Regions from separate parts of the Homo sapiens genome. Here region 1 is linked to region 2. Evidence: promoter capture Hi-C in 16 types of primary human blood cells and fetal thymus (Javierre and others, 2016). All regions are on one chromosome and are shown on one strand. The core of a region is centred on a gene start or on the middle of the fragment in contact, and the rest is flanking DNA. Distances in the headings are between cores, read along the strand shown. Region 1 holds the start of GALNT7 (polypeptide N-acetylgalactosaminyltransferase 7). Region 2 holds the start of NEK1 (NIMA related kinase 1).

Region 1 (5,212 bases), core at 2,502-5,001, 3.6 Mb after region 2:
TTAAAACTTAGGATAGCCTAGGTGTGGTGGCTCACAGCTGTAATCCTAGCACTTTGGGAGTACGAGGCAGATTGCCTGAGCTCAGGAGTTCGAGACCAGCCTGGGCAACACCGTGAAACCTCGTCTCTACTAAAATACAAAAAAAAAAAAAATTAGCTGGGCGTGGCGGTGTGCACTTGTAGTCCCAGCTACGGGGGAGGCTGAGGCAGGAGAATTGCTTGAACCCGAGAGGTGGAGGTTGAGGTGAGCCAAGATCGCACCACTGCACTCTACTCCAGCCTGGGTGACAGAGTGAGAGACTCCGTCTCAAAAAAAAAAAAAAAAAAAAAAAAAAAAAAAAAAAAAAAAGAAAAGAAAAAAAACCCCAAAAAACTTAGGATAAAATCTTAAAACGTTTTGTTCGACTTAAATTTAAATTAGCAGTTTAGGATATAGTACACTGATAATGTAATTACATACATTCTGCTATAAAGGCATAGACATCTTTATTGGGAGATATGGGCAGAAAAATTATTTCCTCAGGGTGGGGCATTTGGCTAAACACTTGCCAATATCCTTTACTGTGTAATTTAGGTAACACAGGCAGAAAAGGCGTTTGAAAAGCAGAAATCAAGTGGCAAATATCAGATCTGAGGGACGCAATGAGGGTGGAGTTGAAATCCGTGGTCCTTGGATTTGAAACTTACCAGCCCGTGAACAAGGTTGGTATTGCTTTTGGCATAAGACGACAGCCTTTCTTTTCATTAGCTCAGGAGGAATACTGGCTTTCCAAGTGAGCTCCTCCAATCCAGTGATATTTGCACATCTCACCTGGGCCTTTCGGTTACAAATTCACCACCTTAAGGAGCCGTGTGAAAAAGCAAGAACAATCAATAAGAAGGAAAAAAAAAAACCCTTCAGCTATAAATCAGCCACGTGGAGCTGCTGCAGCAGCAGCGGTAGTCCCACTTCCTGGTTGGCTTCCTGAAAGCCTCTCGACAAGGGGCTCAGGGAAGTGGGTCTAAGGGAGAGGTGCAGACGAGAGCGACTCCAGGTCCAACGGAGGGGGCGGCGGGCCACGGGATCCCGGAGGGCACAGGCGTTAAGGACGGAGTTATTGTCCATAATTACAATAAAAGTTTGGGGATCTGAAAGCTTTAAGGAGCTGAGCTGCAGGGCAAAGGCTAAGAACCGGACTCGGGAAAAGTGCAAGTTAGTTACAAGGTAGCAGGGACTGTGAAGGGGGCTCGCGTGGAGAGCAGGGGACTGCGGATCTGGAAGGGGGCAGGTAGAGAGGAAGGCAGCCTGGCAGAGCGAGGCACACGGGTCAGTCGGAGCTCTGCGGTGGCCGCCAGAGGGGAGGGGGCCACGGGGAGGAGCGGAGGGAAGAGCCCGGGGAAAGGTGTAGCCGAGGGGAGTTCCGGATCTGGAGCTGGAAAGGGCAGGCAGCGGAGAGGGCGGCAGCCGTAGCGGTAGGGGTGGGGGAAAGAGGGGGAGGAGAGCCGGAGGAGGGGGAAGGAGGGAGGGGAGAGCGGTGGCGGCGGCTGCGCCGGGCTGTGAGTCTCTCGCCGCCGGAGGAAGATGAGGCTGAAGATTGGGTTCATCTTACGCAGTTTGCTGGTGGTGGGAAGCTTCCTGGGGCTAGTGGTCCTCTGGTCTTCCCTGACCCCGCGGCCGGACGACCCAAGCCCGCTGAGCAGGATGAGGGTGAGTGACCCGCCCGGCCCCCTCCGGCGGCAGCGACCGGCAACTTGTTTTGTTTGCCCGCGTGTGGAGGGAGCAGGGGCGGCGGGGTCGCGGCACGGCGTGGGCACCGCAGCTCCGCAGGTGGTGCTGGCGCAGCGCGGGCCGAGGGGGTGCCGAGCCCCGCGCACTCCGACCTCCCTGGCCGCCGCCGGCCCGCCCCCTCGCCGCCCCTTCCTCCGCTCTTCCCCGCCCCGGGCTCCGTCGCCGACACCCGCGCTGCCGCGGCAGCGGCTCGGGCGGCCGCTCTCCGCGCCGGGACTGCGGGCGGAGCGGGCGGAGAGCCGGGTCCGGGGGGCTGCGGCCGCCCGGCGTCCCGCTCTGGGGGGCCGGGACCGCAGCGCTCACGGCCCGGGGACGCGGGGTTGGTCCAGGCTGCGGCCTGTGGCGCGTGCAGGCCTGAAGGAGGCGAGATGCCGATGCCGCCACCGCTGGTCCGGTGGACCAGGCCCCTTGGTCCAGCCTCCCCTCCCGCAGCCGCCCGTCTGGGGGTGTTCGCAGCCCCGGGCTCCCCCGGCCCGCCCGCCGGGGAGTGGGAGGGCGATGGCGCCCCGCCTCCGGCTCTTACGGAGAGCGCGCCTCCCCCTCAACTCCGGCGGCGGGGAGCCGGGGTGCGATGCGCGGCCGAGGCCTCGCCCGGACCGCCGGTCCCCCTCGCGTCCCTGGGCGAGGGAGGGGCGGTTGGCCGGAGATGGCGGAGGGGCGTCCCCGCCCCGCCTGCCCGCCGCCCCCAGCCCTCAGCGCCTGGGGAAGCCCCTGCTGTGGCAGTGCTCGGGCGCTATCCGGGGGAAGAGGAGCAGTTCCTCTTCCTTGGCTGCGGCAGGGCTGCTTGGGCCGGAAAACTAACTTGTGTCGGCGCCCGGCCGCCCCGCGCCGGCTGCCGGCTAGCTCAGGCCGACGCCGAGGGGAGCGGCGGCGCGGAGCTCGCGGCGGCTCCGCTGGGACGCATTTGTCTGCCGCCCAGGGCGCGAGTGTTAGCGCTGACATTCCTTGGATTTGGAGGGTTTAGTCAGGCGCCTCGGAACATTAGTTACCCGGAGCCGCGCCGCGCGGGGAAGGGACCGCGGGCACTGCGGCTTCCCTGACCCGGCAGCGGGCGGCGCGCACCGGCCTCGCCCCCGACCCTGACCTGCTTCCCCCCGGATGAACCGTTGCACCACCTGCTTCCTCCTCCCCGCTGGGACAGCCAACTGGGCCGGCTGCCAGTGGGGGTAGGAGAGGGTATGAGGGGCTCACGACCGCCGAGGCGGCGGGGCTGCAGGAGGAGTCGAGTCGCTCTCTCTGTTGTAAAGTGCTTTTTGCAAGTGTGATGAGCATCGCTTCTATGTCATGTTTATTTAACTTTCCTTCTGGAAAGTTAGCATCAAGAAGTTGGGCAAAAAGGCTTGTGGCGTCCTTTCAAGAGTAAGAATCCTAGGAGGAGATCCCATTATCAGCTCTTCGCCTATATCATGAGATTAGATGTAATCTGGAAGTTTTAGTATTTGAAGTCTCTACAGCAGTGGAATCCCTTTGTAATATCTGGGATAGATTCCCATCTAAGTCATCTAAATTGATGGTAATAAAAAGTATCAGTTTTCCTTTTCAGTACATTTGCGGTTTTAAGCTTCTCAGCTCATGGAGTGATGGTGATCTTTTTATAATTTTGCTCTCAATATGACTTATTGACAAAGGATAACTGAATATTGCAATTGAGGATATTTGTTTTAAGTCATCAAATGGCTTTTTACATGTAGCTAGAAATGTTTAACCCCCTATTTTCTGGTAGAGAAACTGACGAAAAACTGACAAAACTAGCTAGGTTCAGAATGTCCCGCCCTTCTGATGATCTTTTAAAGAGGTGGCGGAACATCAGCATCACTTGCCAACTCGTGGAATATTTTATTAGTGCAAACAAAGGATGGGCCATAATGCCCATTTCAGTACTATATGGTGATGATAAAGAAGGTGATGATATCTTGATTTTTTGTTTGTTTCAGTGTACTTGATAAAGTTTCTCAGTGGATCCAGTGTAATTTCTGTCATTTGTCAAAAACAAAAGGTAGATTTTAAAGACTTAACATAATTAACATTAAGAGGAATGCTTAGGTATCAGAAGAGCAAGAAAGACCCTTTTATTGGCTTCCCAGGTAAATAGTAATACAAGCAATTTAAAGTGTAGCTTATAAATAATAAGAGCATAAATAAGGGATTATTGCCTTCCTTTAATAAAGACTAACCTAGGAGCTTTTAAGGTACAGTGCTAGAAGGACAAATCCTGTAGGGAGGATTCTGACTCCTGAGTTTCTCCTCCCCCTTGTGGTTCTTTTACTTCGATGACTATTGCATATATTCCACCCATGGTGAGATCTCTGCTTCTCTTTAATGCTGATCTACACATGGACTTTTTTGGATCCCTTTAAATAGCCTGAACGATCCAGTTTACCAGGTATGGGTTCTGCCTCTACTCCAGCAAGCTTGTACCTGTGGCTCCATTCACCCTGTGCCACTTTTTGTCTTGAACTATGAATATGTCATACACTAAATTCTGTTACAGCCTTGACAACTTGGGATGGTCCTTTCTCATCTGCACTATTTCCTTGTTTTAGGTCTGTCCACCTGTGGAGTCAAGACAAAAGAAACATGTTTCTTATTTCCTTCCCATCTCTGGGCCTCTTGCCCTTTCTCTGAAGTGAATGATGTGAAAAATGACCTTACATTTCCGATCATATTCTGTTGTGTGATTTTAAATATTGATTTATTTGAACATTTTTGAGTGCCAATTATATACCAGGCATGGTACTAGTTGTTAAGGAAATACTCCTTGTCCTTAATCTCATGGATCTTGTAAAAACCACACAGCAATCAAACCTCGATAAATATATAAATAAAAATTGTGCTACTGCTTTCATAGTGAAAACCATAGGGGGCAAGAAAATGGAGGAATTTGGTCATAAAAGCCTTACTTGAAGAAATGACTATTAGCAGTAGCAAATCCACACAGGTCTGAAGCAACTCGATTCTTACCTCCTGTGGGAAAGAATTTATTGGAGGGGCATAAGGCAGAGTGAGAGACCGAGGCAAATTTTTGAGCAGGAGTGAGAGTATTAAAAAGCTTTAGAGCAGGAACGGAAGGAAGTACACTTTGAAGAAGGCCATGTGGGCTACTTGAGAAATCCAAGTACCTCGTCTGACCCTGGACTTGGGGTTTTATACATTGGCATGATTCCAGGGTTTGCGTTTCTTCTCCCGTGATTCTTCCCTTGGGGTGGGCTGTCTGCATGCGCAGTGGCCTGCCAGCAGCGGGGAGGGGCTGCCTGCAGTGTGTTTACTGAAGTTTTACTCATGCTCACTTGAGGCATTTTTCCCTTACAATTTGAGCCTTCCTAGAGGAAGGGCATATACTAGTTAAAAGCTGCCATTTTGCCTATTAGTGCACATGCTGGAGCCCACTTGCCCAACTCCTGAGATCTTAGTGGGAACCTGCTGATAACCAGCTTTAGGTGTTTTC
Region 2 (5,361 bases), core at 721-3,220:
ACTAAGAATTTCTTTAAAGCCACAAATAAGCAATTTTGGACATAATAAAATTTTGTGAGCCACATATAAACAATTTTAGAGTATATGAATGGAAAAGCTCAACTTCGATCAATCTGGAACACATACTTAGGTTAAGCATTAAGCTCTCATCAGGTGTTTCAGATATTCTATAGACAGGCTGTCTTGAAGGGAAACATGGTAAAGGCATGGCAACAGGTTTCAAGAAGTCTTTTGGCGCTGTATGCAGCTACAATCCATACATACAGTTCTGCCTAAGCAATAAATACCATCTTGAATAGTGGGAGGGGATCCATTTATCTTCTCAGGAAAAAAGTTCTTTATCTTCCTTTATTCGAAAAAGCAGAAAGCAAAAATGGAATTTCTATTAGACTTTTTTCAAAATATTTTTTCTTCTCTGTAAGTCTATTCAGACAATATTCAACAGATTTTGTAGTAGAAACTACCAACAGGTAAATAAAGAATGTACATTCGTGAAAAGGTGTCATGTTCATGACTTAGACTAGAAGGCAGGAGATTAGACAGGGCAAAATTTACTTGGAATACAATGTCAATGTACTATTCACACGACCTCAAAAGAACTTCTGTGGTCAAGTCCGACGACCTTTATTAAATTCCTGACAGTGACTTTTAACGTGAAAAAAACCTGTTTTCCCACAAAATAGGCTCCTTACATTTCACCTAGAACAATGGATATTTTAAGTGAAACAGATCTGTAGAACCTCTAAAACCAGACAAATGTAAACTAGAAACAAGGAGTTACTTCTCTCCAAATTTGGCTCCCCTCCATCAGCTCTACAATACTGCTGCATCATAAAAAAAGGTCATTAACTTAGATTGGATGCCACTTTTAATCCTTCATAAACATTTCTAATGAAACATACCAAGGCAATAAAAAATATTTCTGCTTCCTAAAGCAGATCTTAAAGAACAAAAAATAGGCCTGCAAAAAAAGTTATGATAAACTCTTAAAGTAGTACAACAATTAATGCCTTACATATGGAAACTGTGTCAAATCATGGAAACAGAAATCTAAGATTACAGGGTAACCAGCTAACTACTACTCATATTCGCTTCCTAATTAAAATTTATCAGTAATTTAAGATTGGACACAACATAAGCAATGCAAATGCTTGCTTATCCATACTAAGATTCCTATTATTTTAATCCCATTACCGCTCTAGTTTTTAAAAATACCGTAATGTCCAAGAATCGCTTTGTTAATACAGAGTGTCTTAGAGAATTAACATTTAAATGAGATTAAGGTATTTTCCCTGCAAACACTTAAGGTATCTGTGTAATCTCAATATAAGCAGTTCTACGCACATCTCATTTCCAGGATGATTTTTACCATTTTGCATGTCATTCCTTCCCCCAAGTGGAACTCACCTCAGTGACACAGGACGTTAGTAGGAATAACGGTGATGACTAATAAGCATCAGTCTAGGTGTGGCAGTCTTCCTACGGGGCTTAATAAAGCAGAGGTACCATCCCGCATTTTGAAAATGACATCCTGAAAGAGAAACCAAGACTGTCTAACCAGCAGCAGCTCACAGTCCAGACTGAAAGGGGGCACTGAGACTCTCCACACCTGACACTCGTCTTCAGTTGATACCACGGGTTTGACTCCGTCCTGTCTCGGGCGACGCCCGTAAGACAGGTCGACACTACCCCGACGAAACAAACAAACTGGTTTCTGAGCCCCGTAGAAACGGCGGGGTGCAGCAGGGGGAGTGCCTCCGTTACCGCCTCTCCAACTTCACAGAGGTCGTTGCTAGTGGCCACGGCGGGGTGGGGACGGGCGGCGTTCGGGACTGGGAAGCTACTTGACTGCCACGTGCTCCTGCCTCGCAACAGCGGCTCTAGATTCCGAGTTATGGGGACAACTGCTCGAGAGGCCAGGGTAGGGTAAGGACTCCGCAACCTAGGGTCCCAAAACCCTGGAGCGAATGCGGACTAAGGGAGAGCGGCCGGCGCGTCACCGGCGCTGGCGTGTGACGTCAGCGCGTGGAAGGCGGCACGCAGCGGAGGCGGCTGGGAAGGAGCAGTGAGGCTGGGCTAGAACCGTAGGGTCGGGCGGGGTGCTGTGCGAAGGGGCGGGCGGGGTGCTGTGCGAAGGGACGGGAGGGGCGGGCTCTGCAGGCGGGAAGACAGAAAGGACGAGACGGGAGAGATGAAAAGGATGGAGAGAGTGTAAAGCTGTTAAGAGTCATGCAGAGATGCGGGAGAGAACTCACTAGTTGAAACCAATTTGGAATATAAAGCATATAAAATTTTCCCACAGCTACTACACCGAGAAAGGGACTTTTTTATTTTACATGAAAGCGCACTACTTAGGGATGCCACATTTTAAAGAGCAATTTTGCTTTAAAAAGCAAGTCTTTTCCTATTATATCTTGGATGGTTGAAACAGAAGAATGTTTAAGTCTTGAGATATTTTTAAAAAGCTGTATGGGGTTTTCTACACCTTTACATCTAATGTATGTATAAATTACTTGTCTGTATGTTGAAGGGTTTGGAAATGTACAGCAGTCTAAGTACATTTTTTCACTGCAGGACTGGCGAAGGTAGGAAGAGATTCCCCTAAAACTATAATAAGGGATATCATCTGGCGTCATCCTGAGTGGCCCTACTCAGGGCAACTTTATTCCTAGGGACATTGAAAGATTTTGGCGGCTTTGCCAGACGATGGCGCTGCAAGTCACCCAACCTGAAAAGCTGGAGAGTTTGTTTTATCTCCTCTTCAATCGCCATACAGCTACAAAAGACTTATTTTCCTCATTCTTTCTACTTCTAGTCTACACTCCTGTGGGCCCTCCTACCCCCAGTTAGTAGGAATTATCATGTCTGAATGCACAATTGTAGTTCTACCCACATCCTTTTGTACATCAAAGTGAAGTGAAATGTTGCCAATTACTAATCTAAGCAAATTCTTTTTGCTGCTTACAGGAAGAATGGCTAGTCAGCTAACCTCCTTAGATAATTCTTTAGGCTCATGTCATAAACTATTGGTAGGACTACAAACTGCTACAGTCTTTCTAGAAGGTATGCTAGCAGTATGCATATCCTTTGACTCAGCAATTTAACTTCTGGAACAAGTGAGCAATGATTTATATACAAGGATAACCGTTATTGTTTATAACCAGAAAAACTAGAAATACTGTAAATGTATAACAATAAAGAATTGATTAAATTATAATATATCCAAACAATGAAATACTCTAAAGCCATTTAAAAGAGTAATCAAGATCTACTTTATTGACATACAAAGATACCATTGATATATTGATGAGTAAATAAAGCAGGTTACCTAAGAAGATTACCTGATTTCCCTTTCTGGTTTATATACCCCTGTACAATTGATTTTTTTTTTTATTTTTAAACAAGAGTGCTTTGGGGTTTCTTTTTCTTTAAATATTTTATTGGACTTTTCTTTCAAACAAAAAAGTTTTTGCTTCTTGCAACAAGCCAGTAACACAAGTACACAAAGATAAAGCCTATCGTCTCCTTCCCAGAGCTCTTCTGTGCTGTCCTCCACGAAACCAATGTTAACAGTTAATTAATATCATCTACATTTTTCTCTAAGTTCCTAAAAACATAAGCATGCATTTTTATATTTTATATATTAGTCTTAGTCTTTTATTTACTTATTTATTTTGGAGACAGGGTCTCATTCTGTTTCCCAAGCTGGAGTGCAGTGGCGCGATCTTAGCTCCCTGCAACCTCCGCCTTCCAGGCTCAAGTGATTCTCCCACTTCAGCCTCCCGAGCAGCTGGGACCATGGGTGCGTGCCATCACACCTGGCTAATTTCGGTATTTTTTTTGTAGAGATAGGGTTTTTGCCATGTTGCCCAGGCTTCTTGTGTGTGTGTTTTGTAGAGATGGGTTCTACCATGTTGCTCAGGCTGGTTTTGAACTCCTGAGCTCAAGTAATTCTGCCTGCTTTGGCCTCCCAAAGTGCTGGGATTACAGGCGTGAGCCACTGTGCCTAGCCGGGACTATAGTATACATATTATTTTGCAACGTACATTTTTAAATTTAATAGTATATGAACATCTATGCGGATATCAACTAATTCTTGTGAATGATATTGATATTTCATGATATGGCTATACCAAAATCTACTCCATTCAGTAGACATATTGTTTCCAATGGTATAATTACTTCTGTGGGATAGATTTCGAAAAGTAGGTTTGCTGGGTCAAAATGTATGCATATTTTTTCACTTTAACACTCCTATGTCTTGGTTATGAAAATTTCTTAACTCCTTATTAATAGTGGTAGTACAATATAGTAAATGGAAGGGGACTAGCAGTATACCTAAGCTATTCTACTAGATTTTTCAGAAATATATTCTGCCATGCATTCACAATTAAGCACTATATGTTAGATGATGGGGACAAACATATTCAAAGAATGGATATTGTTATTCCTTCTTTCTAGAAAGCAGGCAGCAAGGTGAAACAAAATAGAGAATAACAAATTAGAGCAAATGGTTGGTATAGAACTACACTATTTTCCCTTTGTGAAATTATTATGTAAATGATTTTATTAAGACTATGTATTTATGAAGGCATAAGTTCTGATTATACTCACCTAAAATCTTTTTTTTTAAATTATACTTTAAGTTTTAGGGTACTTGTGTACAACATGCAGGTTACATATGTATACATGTGCCATGTTGGTGTGCTGCACCCATTAACTCGTCATTTAACATGTTAATGCTAACCCTCCCCCCTCCTCCCACCCCAGAACAGGCCCCGGTGTGTGATGTTCCCCTTCCTGTGTCCTTGTGTTCTCATTGTTCAATTCCCACCTATGAGTGAGAATATGCATACTTACCTACAATCTTTTGTGATTAGAGAAGGGCCTAAAATACTAAATATGAAGAAAAGCATTCTCTAAAATCCAGATCTTTTACAGACATGTAATATTCAAATCCAAGGGAGAAAAAAAAGTCAATGTCTTGGCATTTAGTACTCCATCTTGCTACATTCTAGGCGAGAAATTTTTAGTTATTTAAGCCACGTTCCTGAAAGTCTACTCTAGCCTTATGTGGTTTGAACTCACTGTTAACTCTGCATAGCTACGAGTTAAACTGTAGCAGCCTACTGAATTTCTGGATCTTAATCTGGTAGGCCCAGCTCCATATGCAAAGATAAAACATCTAGTCAGCTTTTGAGTTTCTGGCTTTCTGAATTGGGTCACCTGCCAGGGCTCACAGATGAGTCCACCACCTGAAAAGAATGATCATAATCTGTATCTAGGATGAATAAAACAAAACACTGTGCCCTTAGTTGTGTGCAGCCTGAGAAATGAGTCACTTCATGAGACTGTTTTCAG

The links. Contacts are between HindIII fragments. The CHiCAGO score rates a contact against its expected background, and 5 or more counts as called.
Region 1: a contact is called between a fragment that was not itself captured here and the fragment with the promoter of NEK1 in region 2, in 1 of 17 cell types (total B cells). The highest score is 6.9, in total B cells.

Annotation. Positions count from the first base shown.
Region 1 is chr4:173,167,276-173,172,487 of GRCh38, forward strand. It overlaps GALNT7 (polypeptide N-acetylgalactosaminyltransferase 7), which reads left to right and starts at 1,536. Exons shown (of 12, transcript NM_017423.3): 1 at 1,536-1,686. The coding sequence starts at 1,561. It overlaps GALNT7-DT (GALNT7 divergent transcript), which reads right to left and starts at 2,377. Exons shown (of 7, transcript NR_134242.1): 1 at 1,589-2,377; 2 at 687-838. RefSeq lists an enhancer at 805-904 and silencers at 1,215-1,264, 1,335-1,454, 1,685-2,914. The HindIII fragment of the contact is 850 bases long and covers 3,327-4,176 here.
Region 2 is chr4:169,610,613-169,615,973 of GRCh38, forward strand. It overlaps NEK1 (NIMA related kinase 1), which reads right to left and starts at 1,971. Exons shown (of 36, transcript NM_001199397.3): 1 at 1,610-1,971; 2 at 1,408-1,531. RefSeq lists enhancers at 1,444-1,563, 1,984-2,043. The HindIII fragment of the contact is 11,256 bases long and covers 1-5,361 here.